5 separate regions of the Homo sapiens genome follow, and all the other regions are linked to region 4. The links are contacts of gene promoters, found by promoter capture Hi-C in blood cells and fetal thymus (Javierre and others, 2016). All regions are on one chromosome and are shown on one strand. Each heading gives the region's core, a stretch centred on a gene start or on the middle of the fragment in contact. The rest is flanking DNA. Distances are from core to core; before and after follow the strand shown. Region 1 overlaps KNTC1 (kinetochore associated 1). Region 2 overlaps KNTC1 (kinetochore associated 1). Region 3 overlaps RSRC2 (arginine and serine rich coiled-coil 2). Region 4 holds the start of CCDC62 (coiled-coil domain containing 62). Region 5 overlaps KNTC1 (kinetochore associated 1).

Evidence for each region. The method cuts DNA at HindIII sites, captures the fragments that hold promoters and counts their contacts. A CHiCAGO score of 5 or more calls a contact.
Region 1: a fragment that was not itself captured here is called in contact with the fragment with the promoter of CCDC62 in region 4 in 1 of 17 cell types (M1 macrophages); the score reaches 5.0 in M1 macrophages.
Region 2: a fragment that was not itself captured here is called in contact with the fragment with the promoter of CCDC62 in region 4 in 3 of 17 cell types (M2 macrophages, M0 macrophages and M1 macrophages); the score reaches 5.7 in M2 macrophages.
Region 3: a fragment that was not itself captured here is called in contact with the fragment with the promoter of CCDC62 in region 4 in 1 of 17 cell types (endothelial precursors); the score reaches 5.1 in endothelial precursors.
Region 5: a contact is called between a fragment that was not itself captured here and the fragment with the promoter of CCDC62 in region 4, in 1 of 17 cell types (M1 macrophages). The highest score is 6.0, in M1 macrophages.

The regions. Positions count from the first base shown.
Region 1 is chr12:122,537,136-122,539,835 of GRCh38, forward strand. It overlaps KNTC1 (kinetochore associated 1), which reads left to right. Exons shown (of 64, transcript NM_014708.6): 4 at 1,204-1,319; 5 at 2,541-2,619. Among named protein-coding and RNA genes, the nearest start is that of KNTC1, 11 kb to the left of the region's middle. The HindIII fragment of the contact is 271 bases long and covers 1,175-1,445 here.
Region 2 is chr12:122,620,708-122,623,407 of GRCh38, forward strand. KNTC1 (kinetochore associated 1) reads left to right here. Exons shown (of 64, transcript NM_014708.6): 61 at 1,174-1,263; 62 at 1,755-1,900. Among named protein-coding and RNA genes, the nearest start is that of MIR9902-1, 74 kb to the right of the region's middle. The HindIII fragment of the contact is 2,548 bases long and covers 28-2,575 here.
Region 3 is chr12:122,518,951-122,521,650 of GRCh38, forward strand. It overlaps RSRC2 (arginine and serine rich coiled-coil 2), which reads right to left. Exons shown (of 10, transcript NM_023012.6): 3 at 2,435-2,478; 4 at 1-79. Among named protein-coding and RNA genes, the nearest start is that of RSRC2, 6.6 kb to the right of the region's middle. The HindIII fragment of the contact is 5,031 bases long and covers 1-2,700 here.
Region 4 is chr12:122,773,128-122,775,827 of GRCh38, forward strand. CCDC62 (coiled-coil domain containing 62) reads left to right here and starts at 1,445. Exons shown (of 13, transcript NM_201435.5): 1 at 1,445-1,579. The coding sequence starts at 1,544. RefSeq lists silencers at 1,283-1,492, 2,015-2,309 and enhancers at 1,592-2,285, 1,673-1,812. The HindIII fragment of the contact is 6,061 bases long and covers 832-2,700 here.
Region 5 is chr12:122,583,083-122,585,782 of GRCh38, forward strand. KNTC1 (kinetochore associated 1) reads left to right here. Exons shown (of 64, transcript NM_014708.6): 35 at 1,196-1,368; 36 at 1,811-1,908; 37 at 2,554-2,692. Among named protein-coding and RNA genes, the nearest start is that of KNTC1, 57 kb to the left of the region's middle. The HindIII fragment of the contact is 386 bases long and covers 1,258-1,643 here.

The DNA of each region.
Region 1 (2,700 bases), core at 60-2,559, 240 kb before region 4:
GTTACCTTGGCCTTCTTGCTTTTGCATGAATACAACAGGCACTTCCCACTCCATGATCTTTCCTTGAGCTGTGTCCACCATCTGAATGCTCGGAATGCTCTTCATCTTAGTCATTTGGCTAACTTCCTCACCTCTTTCATGTCTCCTGTGAGCTTTCTAATTAACACTGCAAAATGCACCATTCTTCTGAGCTCTCTTACCTGGCTCTACATTTTTTTCCCCAGAACATCTATCACCTTCTTACATGTCTCACAGTTTGTTTATTATGCTAATTGTTTATCAGCTATTTTTTTTTTTTTTTGAGACGGAGTCTGGCTCTGTTGCCTAGGCTGGAGTGCAGTGGCGTGATTTCAGCTCACTGCAGCCTCCACCTCCTGGGTTCAAGCGATTCTCCTGTCTCAGCCTCCTGAGTAGACTGGATTACAGGCACATGCCACCATGTCCGGCTAATTTTATATTTTTAGTAGAGACGGAGTTTCACCATGTTGGCCAGGCTGGTCTCGAACTCCTGACCTCAAGTGATCTGCCTGCTTCGGCCTCCCAAAGTGCTGGGGTTACAGGTGTGAGCCACCACGCCTGGTCATTTATCAGCTATTTCTGTCTTAGAATATGAGCTCTGTGACGGTGGTAATCTTTTGTTACTGTTCTCAGATATATGTAAAAGGCCTAGAACAAAGTTTACCATATAGTAAGTGCTCAGTAAATATTTCTTGACCAGCTGCATGCAGTGGCTCACATCTGTAACCTCAGCACTTTGGGAGGCAGAGATGGACAATCGCTTGAGCTCAGGAGTTCGAGACCAGTCTGGGTAACATGGCAAAACCTCGTCTGTACAAAAAATACCAAAAACTAGCTGGCCATAGTGGTGTGTACCTGTGGTCCCAGCTACCTGGGAGGCTGAGGTGGGAGAATTGCCTGACTGAGCCCAGGAAGTCTAGGGTGCAGTGAACTGGGGTGGTACCACTGCACTCCAGCCTGGGTAGCAGAGCGAGACGCTGTCTCAAAAACAAAACAAAACAAAAAATATTTGTTGACTGAATAAAAGTCAACAACATTCTTTTTTACTTTCATCACATCTGTTTTGCAGTATTTAGAAGTAACTTAAGTAATCGTTGGCTTTTTAATGAGAAAAATTTGTATTTTTTTTGTATTGAAAATAAAGATTTTCGAAGGAAGCTTGTAACTTTGATTTGAAATTTTCAGATACTGAAGTGGATGTAGTTGGCCTTTGTCAAGAAGGAAAGTTTCTTTTGGTTGGCGAGAGAAGTGGCAACCTACATCTTATTCATGTAACATCAAAACAAACACTACTCACTAATGTAAGATCTTGTTGTATTTTAATTTTCATTATTTAAATTCTAAATAATCTCTTAGACAACTAAAACTCTAGCAAACTATTACTTAACATGTGTTTTAAATTAAAGCAATGTTTTTTTGAACAATTAAGCTTTGAAGGTGTTACCACAGCTTGGATCCTGAGTTCTTGGCTCTCGTGTAAATAGAAATTAACACCAGGTCAAACAGAAATTTTCCCAGGGAATGTTTAGTAGGCTTGTGGCTCAAGGAATCTCAAGGAAACAGCGTATGGGAAAGGGATCCCAAGTGCTAGCTCCCCGAAGGGCTTAGCTCTTGTCATTTTGAGGAAGCTGAGGTGAAAAAGGGAGTGATTTGTAGGCATGTAGAGGCAGGGAACTTTTAGCGCCTGTGAATTTTGGTCGCATCCTTTTTCATGTGTTGTATATCTCACTAGCATGTTAAATCTCCATCCCTGGGTGTGATTTTTAGTATCATAATTAGGTTAAAATTAGGAAATACTTGGTGAAAGGCCAGGGTTGAAGTCCACCTTGTCTTCAGCTGGCTGGATCTGGTCAGGTGCTTAGCAGGACTGCTAGAATCCTGATTTAGTAACCTTGGAAGATGGTCAGGTTTTTATTAGGAATGCTAGAGTCCCACTTTAACAACTTTGGGAGAAGTAACTCCAGGAGACAAATGGTTAGGTTCTTGTATGGTTGGGAATTCAGCTTGGTCAGCTAACTCAGGAGCAGGCAGCTTTCTGCTGTTTGATTCCAGTCAGCTTGTTAAGGGAGGCAGGAAGGTAGAGGAGGGAATGCCCAGACATATGAAGCCTTTGGGGTCTTGGTTACCATGTCTCTTGCCTGCCAGGATTGAGTTTCTTCCCTATACTGAATGGTATTTTAAATTAAAAAAATGTTTTTTTGAAAAATTAAGCTTTGAAGGTGTTACCACAGCTTGGATCCCGAATTCTTGGCTCTCACATAAATAGAAATTAGCACCAGGTCAAACAAAAATTTTCTTAGGCCAGGTTTAGTAGGCTTGTGGCTCAAGGAATCGCAAGGGAGCAGTCTTGAAGGTATTTAGTACACTTGTCCAAAATAGTTTTCCATTTTAAAAGTAAGATGTTTAGAATATAGGCAGAATTATTGCTAATGATAATTGATAACTCTAGAGTTTAAAGAATAAAATCCTTGATTGTATTTTTCTATGTTTAATTTTATTATTTGAAATTAATTTGCATTTAGGCATTTGTTCAGAAAGCTAACGATGAAAATCGGCGGACTTACCAGAATCTTGTCATTGAGAAGGATGGTTCAAATGAAGGTAAGTTTTCCTGAATTTTTTTTTGAATGACTTTTTTTTTTTTTTTTAATGGAGTCTCCCTTTGTCGCCCAGGCTGGAGTG
Region 2 (2,700 bases), core at 52-2,551, 150 kb before region 4:
AAGCATGAATACATCAGATATGTGTGAAGCTTGTATGGGGGCTTAGTGGGAGGTAAGACTGAAAGATAGATTAAGGTCCAGCTGAGGGCTGTCTTACAAGGGGTTTGGGCCTTATTGTCTATCAGTGGGGAAACAAGTGATTATTTTAGAACAGCAAACTGAAATGATGAAGGAATTATTTTAAAAGGAATAACCCATTAACCCATGTAGGCTTGGACAGAGGAGAGGACAAGAAGTGAAACAGTTGGGAAGATGTTGCATTTGAGTAGAATTTTATCCCACTTGATCTCTTCATAGCAACCTTGTGCATAGGCAGGGAAGGCTTGAGGGTTAAGTACCCATGATAGGGTCTGGTAATGAACTTGAACAAGACAAGAAGGCTACAAGGAAGGCAGCAGACTTAGCAATTGAATGTGGGAGATAGAAGAGGGGGAGAGTCAGATTTTATGTGTGGGTGCCCATCAGAAGGAGCCACAAGCATTTTGGGGATAGAACTTTTAAAAATAACTCTCATTTCCTTTATAATAGAGAACAAGTAGAACAAAGCATTTTGGAATGTTTTACAGTTATCTTCCCTGCAGGTAGATATACCAGTAGATAGAGATCTACATAAATGAACATACATGCATTCAGGCTTTTTCGTTTGTTTGTTTTTTGTGTTTTGTTTTTTGAGAGTCTCTGTCACCCAGGCTGGAGTCCAGTGGTGCAATCTCAGCTCACTGCAGCCTCCCTCCCGGGTTCAAGTGACTCCCAAGTAGCTGACGTTACGGGCTCCTGCCACCACGCCCGGCTAACTTTTGTATTTTTAGTAGAGACAGGGTTTTGCTATGTTGGCCAGGCAGGTCTCGAACTCCTGACCTGAGGCAATCCGCTGGCCTTGGCCTCCCAAAGTGTTGGGATTATAGGCATGAGCCACTGCGCCCAGCTGAACATGCATATTTTTTATTTGTCATTTGGCTTATTAATTACATTTTTAAAAGCCATCTGTTCTTGTCTTTGACTTTTTCCCCTCTTTTCATCATTCATACACTCATTCCTTGATGTCGTTCAGTGTTTCAGTATTTAAATAGATTTCTTTTGGCACTTAGAAGAGCAAAATACCTGATCAACGGCTCTTGCTGTTGGAATAAATAATAACAATTTTCTATTAATTCTGCTTTGATTTTTCTCTAGAATTTTCTGGGTTCCTGTGACCCTCAGGTTATTTTAAAGCAATTGGAAGAGCATATGAACACGGGCCAGCTAGCAGGATTTTCACATCAAGTAAGAGGCGATTTCATCTCCTTTTTGCTATGAAAATGTTGATACTAGAAGGTAGTCATTTTCCCAAACCAAGAGTAAGCTGAAAACTGCTATGTCTAGCTGTTTGTTTATGTATAGAATTATTTTGCTTTTACTAAAACCTCAGTAAATTTTTTAAGAGGCAGGGACCCTGAGCGTCTTGTTGACTGCTGTACTCCATGGAAAATTTGTAGCCTTAAGTGCTTTTAATTGAAAACAGATCTTCTTCCTCATAAAAAGTCTCAAAGTGCACAACAACAATTACTTTATTTATTGACTGATGCTGACAGGCCTCCTTTCCCTTTTTACCCCCTCAAAAAGGAGGCGCAGTCACAATGCAGTGCTAATTGGGCTTCCGATTGTCAGAAATGTTTTGATATTGAATAAAGGCTTGATACCTGTCATTCTATAGATTAGAAGTCTGATTCTAATAGATTAGAAGTCTGATCTTAATGATACCTGTCATTCTATAGATTAGAAGTCTGATTTTGAATAATATCATCAATAAGAAGGAGTTTGGGATTTTGGCAAAGACCAAATACTTTCAAATGTTGAAGATGCATGCGATGAATACCAACAATATCACTGAGCTAGTGAACTATTTGGCAAATGACTTAAGGTAAGTTAATTAAAAAAAAAAAAACTTACTGTGGAATTTCCTTAAAATCTATCTTTATAAGCTGGGCACGATGGCTCACGACTGTAATCCTAGCACTTTGGGAAGCTGAGGTGGGTGGATCACCTGAGGTTGAGAGTTCAAAACCAGCCTGACCAACATGGAGAAACCCTGTCTCTACTAAAAATACAAAATTAGCCGGGCATGGTGGCACATACCTGTAATCCCAGCTACTAGGGAGGATAAGGCAGGAGAATCTCTTCAACCCGGGAGGCAGAGGTTGCAGTGAGCCGAGATCGCACCATTGCACTCCAGCCTGGGCAACAGGAGCGAAACTCTGTCTCAAAAAAAAAAAAATCTATCTTTATGTTGGAGCAGAATGTCAACTGTAGAGCTATTTGGTTGTAATTAAAAGCTCAAAATATTACATCTCTCATTACTGCACATATCCAAAAGTTAATCATTTAATAACCCAATTTCTTGGAATATGACCTTAGAATCTGACAATTAAACAGGTCATCTGAACCCCCAAATCAAGTGTCTCACAGCCCTGTTCTAAATCCTACATTACAATTTTATGTCTAGACACTTGCTCAGAACATTAATGACTTTATGTAGCATCACTTTTGTTAAACCTGGTTATCTAATTTTCCAGCACCCACAAGTTTAGAAACAATAAGCTTCTTGGGATAGAGCTGGGGGTGGATATGGAAACTGAACGGGAGAAGGAAGAAGTGGGCTGACACTAAAGAAAGGGAAGTTCAAGACCGCAGTACACACCAGATCCATCCCTGCATGTGGTC
Region 3 (2,700 bases), core at 1-2,500, 250 kb before region 4:
CAGAAGAATGTTCTTTGTCATTATGTTCCTCAGACTTATGTTTCTTAGAGGATTTATCTTTGGATTCATGTCTTCTTCCCTGTTTTAAGAAGAAGTTGGTTCTTTCAGGAAAATAGTGCAACAAAGAGAGTTAGTATGGGTATCAGTAGACAAAAATGTTGTGATGCAACATTAGTAACCTTAGGAGTGTGTGGCAAATAAAAAAAAGATCTAGTTTCACATCACCCAAATGTTGCAGATGTAATTACTATTTTTTTTACTATAAACACCCAAAATGTAGTTCCTCCCCAAAATATTTTCAATACAACAGAAACAATGATTTTTAAAGTTGAAATATTGAAAAGCCATTATGCCAGACAAAAGAGGAATCCCTTATGTTTATCTAAAAGAATACAGACCATGTATATACATCAACTTCTAAATCCAGATTACATAATGTTAAGTTTAAGTAAGTAATGGAGATAATGACACAAAAAGTGCACCAGAAACGCATTTCAATTAGGTAGCTAAATATAATTATTACTAAGTACTAATATTTTCTATAATTTCAAATTATTTTACACAGAGATGCAGTGTCCCTTTTACAGTTATACTGCCTGCTACATCCTCTAAAAGACAGCTCTTGATTTTCCTCCCAATGTCTAAACTGTGAAGCAATCACTTTTCATCTTGCAGTATCCCAATAGGCTTAGAGGAGTATTACACTTCATGTACCTAGGGTAGAAATGGCAACTGTATGTTTCAATTTTAAAGAAACCAAACTAGGTATAACAATCCACATGCCATCACACAATACATACTGCCCCCACACTTTAAAAAGACCAAGGCCTTCACATGTGCATTCAGAGACTCAGCTCAAATTAACTGCATGATCAAGTCTCATCCTACCAAATACCAAAGTAGAAGTGCTACATACTACAGTTCCCTACAGGAAGATCTGTCAAATTCATCTTGTAGTGAAAGTTTAAAATCCTAGACATCTCTGAATCACTAAATTTTAATTCTGGAAGGAAACTAAGATCCTCTAACTTAATCCCCTTATTTTATGTATAACTAAGATCTAAAGTTACAAAGCTACATGGGTGAGCTGAACCTTCCCCATGTTTTTCTGATGCCCACGCTACCACTTTTCCACTGTAATAAGACACTACTGTCTCCCAAAAGGCCATAGCATGTTTCTTTCCACTCACGATTAATGTTTCTTAAAAATAAAACTTGGCCAATCATTTTGGAACATGCATGATGATTTATCTGAAAATGATCATAGTACATAATTTATTATTTGCAGAAAAATAAGAGACCTGGAGACACAATTAAATTTTAGTTTCATTGCCAGTTCTCTATAGGAGCTTAGAAAAGAAATTTTCCTTGGTTTTGCTATAACGAGGCAGACTGGAAAAGTCTTAAGTGGTTAAACTTCTAAAGGTTTTAAAGTTTATTTCAAACCAGTTTTTCAAACATAACATTACTATTAATTTAAAAAAAACATTAAAACCCTTAACTGATTTAAGATATATTTAAGGGAAATAGGAGTTTGAATGACTAATAGTTACCTTATCATGAAGTAGGCTTATTATTTTGCTATCTGAGTCTGCAGCGTCTTCAGTTCAGTCTCTTCGCGCATAAGCACGCTGAGTATGATTTATTATAGAAATGTTATCATGTGAGCTAAACAAAATAGTCATTTTCACAAAAACTCTCCTAAATTAAAAATTTAACAGAGCTTCCATTACGGGAAGAGGTGAAGTCCCTGCCCACTCTTGTTTTAGGAGTCCCTTACCCAGCCCCCACAAGACTCTTCTCCCTTTCTGGCTACTACTTCTACACTTCCTTATTGGCTCATTCTTTGTCTTCTCAGGTGGGTGAACAAGTAACTCCTTTGCAATACAGCTGCTGCCTTTCTTTTTCCTCAAGTTTTGGTGTCACCGCCACCTTTTCAGCTGTCCCTCACTCAAACCTTTATTTCAAAATTCAATACTACTATTAGGGAAACTGAACTAGTTTGCAAAAGAAAAGAGAACTCCTGTTATCGTTCATAAGGAAAAAGCAGCGCACAGATATCTAGGGTATTGCTATGTAAAGATGATTGCTGTTTAAAAATCCTGAGCAACTGTCAGGCACCAGGAGACTCGGGACCTCAGATTAATGGAAGCTCTGTGTGACAGGCCTAAAAAAACCAATCATATTCTTCATATGAAATTTTTATTGTGAATATTTTCACAATATAATAAAATTAAAGTTTTGAAGGTACTTTTCACATAAACATCTTCTTCAAAAATGATGAATCAAAATCATGCTTATTTTATAACCCAATAAACCTTTTAAATTTCAAGTTTTGTACTTACCTTGACAACGTCTTATATTCATACAAATCTTTCTACCAGACACTTTATAAGTATTTTAAAGTACCTATTCACTACAAAGTGTTAATTACCTCTTTGCTTCTGCTCCGGCTCCTGTGTTTTCTTCCTTCATTATCTGTGAATACACAAAAAAAATAATCACCATAAACAAAGTTGGAGAAACATTTCATCTTAAAAAACTCTTAATGCTGGAGAAAAATGACTCCCATTAGTCTTCTTCCAATGACTAATTTTTTCATGGCACGGGTGGGATTATTCTACATTAATACAACACACATGTGAAACAAATCAAGCAATCTGAGCAAACCAGGACATAAAGCAGCCTAGATACATCTTT
Region 4 (2,700 bases), core at 195-2,694:
TCAAGTCAGCCTCGTGAGTAGCTGAGACCACAGGAGTGCACCACCACGCCCAGTTTAAAAAAAAATTTATTTTTTGGCCAGGTGCGGTAGCTCACACCTGTAATCCCAGCACTTTGGGAGGCTGAAGTGGGTGGGTCAACTGAGGTCAGGAGTTCGCGACCAGCCTGGCCAAGGTAGTGAAACCCATCTCTACTAAAAATACAACAAAGGTGGCGTGGTGGCGGGCACCTGTAATCCCAGCTACTCGGGAGGCTGAGGCAGGAGATTTGCTTGAGGCCAGAGGCAGAGTTTGCAGTGAGCCGAGATTGTGCCATTGCACTCCAGCTCAGGCAACAAGAGCCAGACTCCATCTCAAAAAAAAAAAAAAAAAAAGTTTTTTAGAGGTGGGTGTCACCATGTTGCTCAGGCTGGTCTCAAACTCCTGAACGCAACAGATCCTCCTACATTGGCCTCCCAAAGTGCTGGGGTTACAGGCCACTGCGCCCAGCTTTCTTGATTTTAAATTCTAAGACATTGCTTTGGTCTCCCAAACATGAGCCTATCAGTAAAGCTTCAAAATAAGAAATCTTAATTTTGTTTTTCCATTTTCAGATTGTATTTTTTGAACACAAGGGCATGTTTTGGCATTTCATATTCAACCAAAAAGTAAAGTTGAAACCCTGTAAGACCGACCGTATTTAGTAATTGTGTTGCTGTCTGATGGGTTAAGCATTCAGGGATGGGCAGCCGGGGCTGAAGTGTGATAAGCCTTATTTTTTCCTAGTCCCGTTCCCACATCTTAGGAAGAGTGAAAGGGGGATGAAGAGGTGACTATGGAAGAACAGGTGAAAAAGCTTAGATTCAACCCAGAATATCGTAGATTTTGTCATGACAAAGTACCGTGGTTCTCCTCATTGCTTTTCAGGAGCTCCCAAGAGTAAATTTCCCCCTCTTCATCTGTGATTCTTGGTTTAAAGTATCAAAGGTGCTAGGGTAGCCCGCAACTGTTATCCCCGAGGGCTGGGCTCTGCCTCCACGCATTCGAGTGTCAGGTCCTGTTCTGGGAGCCAGCTACACAGGAGCGAGCACGGCCGAGCTCACGGTTATTAGGGGGAAGATGGAAGATAGGGAAGTGAGCAACTCAAATGTCATAAACCAGAGTGCTGGGGGCGGCGCAGCAGCCTTTATTGACTTCTTCATTCTCTGGGTAGTGGTGAACAGCCGGTTCTTTCAGGCCTTCCAGCGCCGGAGCCTCGGGCGTGGGCAAAAAGCGTCCATACGCAGCCTGAGCCACTTGGGAGCCCCCAGTTTCCGAGGCAGAAGAACAGTGCCCACCAGCGCAGCGGGGCTGCGGCCCGGAAACCCTGGCGGGGAGCCCCGAGCCCCGGCGGGCGCACGCCGCGTGGGCACCAGGCAGGCGGTTGGAGTACGGGGCGGGGGTCGGCCGAGGGCGCGGGGCCCCGGGGCTCCGGGCTCGCCCCCGCCGCTCGGGGCAGGCGCGCCGATGGCGTTTCTGAGGTGACGCCGCCCACACCGGGCTTCTCCGGGGGCGGAGGAAACACCTATGAACCCTCCGGCAGCCTTCCTTGCCGGGCGCCAGGTAAGCAGCGGTTCCGGGCGCGGCGGGGCGCCGCGGGAACGGTGCACATTGGTCGAAATCTATTGCTTCTCAAGAACGGTGTCTACTTAAAATGTGAAACAGGCCGGGCGCGGTGGCTCACGCCTGTAATCCCAGCGCTTTGGGAGGCGGAGGCGGGCGGATCACGAGGTCAGGAGATCGAGACCATCCTGGCTAACACAGTGAAACCCCGTCTCTACTAAAAATAAAAAAAAAAAAATTAGCCGGGCGTGGCGGCGGGCGCCTGTAATCCCAGCTACTCGGGAGGCTGAGGCAGGAGAATGGCGTGAACCCGGGAGGCAGAGCTTGCAGTGAGCCGAGATCGCGCCACTGCACTCCAGCCTGGGCGACAGAGCGAGACTCCGTCTCAAAAAAAAAAAAAAAAAAAAAAAGTGAAACAATACACTAGAGGAAAACGGCGTCACGACCGTTTCCTTAACCCAATAACACCTTGTTATTCAGCCCGGGCCACAGAGTAGCGCGTACCCGGTGCTTACTGTTTAAGGAGGACGATTGGCGTCTGGGGAGCTGCTTTCCCATTTACCTCTCAGGGTGTCCTTAATTTACACAACCTGGCGAGTAGAGGAAGGAGCTCTCACAACTCCACTGTACCAAAAAGTCTGGAAGTGGGCTTGCCCAAGGTTCGCGTCCATCAGTGTAAGACGACCTGCCTTTGTGTACTCGGCTTACTGCCTGTTTTCCTGGAGTGGAATATGTGCTCCTTGCCTGGAGGTCTGTGGCCCAGCCACTGGCGCTCAATAAATTATTTGTTGAGTGCATGAATGAAGGGCTAACCCAACACTGGAATTCAAGCCTTGGGACTTGAAATCCCTTGACTCCAAATTCCATTTTCCTTGTTAAGACTAGCAACTGTAATTTATTCATCATTCTTATTTATTTATTTTTGAGACAGGGTCTGGCTCTGTCCCCAGGGCTGGAGTACAGTGACGCAATGTCGGCTTACTGCAGCCTCTGCTTCCCGAGTTCAAGCAATCCTCCCGCCTCAGCCTCCCAAATAGCTGGGACTACAGGCTCCCACCACCATGCCGAGCTAATTTTTGTGTTTTTAGTAGAGACAGGGTTTCGCCATGTTGGCCAGGCTG
Region 5 (2,700 bases), core at 201-2,700, 190 kb before region 4:
AGGCGGATCACAAGGTCAGGAGATCAAGACCATCCTGGCTAACATGGTGAAACCCTGTCTCTACTAAAAATACAAAAAATTAGCCAGGCATGGTGGCATGTGCCTATAGTCCCAGCTACTGGGGAGGCTGAGGCAGGATCGTGGCGGGTTGCAGTGAGCCGAGATCACACCACTGCACTCCAGCCTGAGCTACAGAGCAAGACTCCGTCTCACAAAAAGAAAGAAAGTAACAACTGCCTGATTTCTTCAGTCATAAGGGTAGGGCCAGTGACACTCTTTTTTCACAGAAGCAATTCTTGATTTCTCACCTTCAGAGCATATTTTGGGCCTCAGTGTCAGAAAGTAGTAGCATAAAAGGCAAGTAAGCAATACTGCAGAGTTAGGTAACATAACCATTAAATTTAGGTTACTGTGCACTTCAGCATTTAATGGTATCCTTAGTCATTTGAAAAACAGGCTGGGGCCAGGTGTGGTGACTCACGCCTGTAATCCCAGTACTTTGGGAGGCTGAGGTGGGCAGATCACTTGAGGTCAGGAGTTCAAGACCAGCCTGGCCAACACAGTGAAACCCTGTCTCTACTAAAAATACAACTGTTAGTCGGGTGTGGTGGTGGGCACCTCTAATCCCACCTACTCGGGAGGCTGAGGCAGGAGAATCGCTTGAACCTGGGAGGTGGAGGTTGCAGTGAGCCCAGATCGTGCCATTGCACTCCAGCCTGGGCGACAGAGTGAGACTCAGTCTCAGAAAAAGAAAAACAGGCTGGGCACGGTGACTCACACCTGTAATCCCAGCAGTTTTGGAGGCCAAGGCAGGAGGATTACTTCAGCCCAGGAGTTTGAGACCAGCCTGGGCAACATAGTGAGAGCTCATCTCTACAAAAAAAATTTAAAAATTAGCCAAGTGTGGTGGCACACACCTGTAGTCTCAGCTACTTGGGAGGCTGAAGTGAGAAGATTGCTTGACCCTGGAGGTTGAGGCTGCAGTGAGCCATGATTGTGCCACTGCACTCCTGCCTAGGCGATAGGGCTAGAGCCTGTCTCAAAAAAACAAAAGAAAAACTACACTATATACCATGAGAACATTTAAAAGACATTTAATGTGTTGATGGTGGTGGTGATATATTAATCCAAGAAAGGCCATGCGTTCACTTTCAATGTGAGTATTCTAACTACCAATACTTTCTTTCTTCCAAAGCGACTTGTTTAAGTATCACTGCAATGCTGACACTGGGAAATTGCTATTTCTGACATGTCAGAAGCTTTGTCAGATGTTGGCTGATAATGTCCCAGTGACAGTGCCTGTGGGACTGAATCTTCCTTCCATGATACATGATCTAGCAAGCCAAGCTGCCACCATTTGCAGTCCAGGTGACAATATTTATAATATACGTAGTTTTATATTCTCTGGTTCATGTCATACTTGTCTCCCAAATGCTGTCTCTTTACAATTGGACATCACGGTAATCAGACTAGAGATAGTATCTGCATTTCACAAAGGGATGCTTATAATTGATTCTCTTTGAGGATTATTGTTTGAAAGTATTTCAAAATACTAACAATGTCATTTCTGACTGTTGACATTACTCACTTTTGTAGGATTATGAAATTCCTTGCCTCCCATATCTGATCTTATTTTCAAGTCAAGCTTGAGAAAAAATTTAACTTTTTAGGGTAGTCAAAGCTATATGGAACCTTTCTATCTACATTGTGGCCTTCCTTAGAATTTTAAATGGTAATTATTAAAAGGTTGTTTTCATTATCCTAAAGACATGAAATATGAGTTTAATGATTTTTCTCCATTTTGTTTCAGATTTTTTACTAGATGCTTTAGAACTATGTAAACATACTTTAATGGCTGTAGAGCTTTCCAGACAATGCCAAATGGATGACTGTGGAATCCTCATGAAAGTAAGTTACTTTTGAGTTTTTTCCCTTAAATCCTGGGCAACGCATTATGCACCTTTTTTTTTTTTCGGACAGGGTTTTGTTCTGTCACCCAGGCTGGAGTGCAGTGGCATGATCAAGGCTTACTGCAGTCTTGAACTGGGCTTAAGCAGTCCTCCCACCTCAGCCTTCTGAGTAGCTGGGACTATAAGTGTGTGCCACCACATCTGACTAATTAAAAAAAAATTTTTTTTTTGCAGAGACAGGGTCTCACCATCTTGTCTAGGCTGGTCTTCAATTCCTGGGCTCAAGTGATTCCCCCACCTCAGCCTCTCAAAGTGCTCGGATTACAGGCATGAGCCACTGCACCTGGGCCGTTTTTTAATCATTTGCAAAGTTTATGAAAATACTGAATCCACCTCTTATGTTTTCTTACCCTAGACCGGAAAACAACGTAAGGGCATGAGGCCACTTCTCTGTTCCAGTCACTTGATTGGCTTTAATTTGCACTATCTTTCAAAACATTGGGCCTCCAGCAAGGCCTCCCTCGACATTGTCCTTCTGTTAGAGTTTAACTTAAAATGAAATTTCTATAAGCCATAGACCAGAAGAAACAATGTGTTGTGCAGCGTACTGAGTTCTCTCTTTTTTGTATGATTTGGCACCTAGGCTTCTTTTGGGACACATAAAGATCCATATGAAGAGTGGTCTTACAGTGACTTCTTCAGTGAAGATGGAATTGTTCTTGAGTCACAGATGGTGCTTCCAGTGATTTATGAACTGATTTCATCTCTTGTGCCTCTAGCTGGTAAGTCT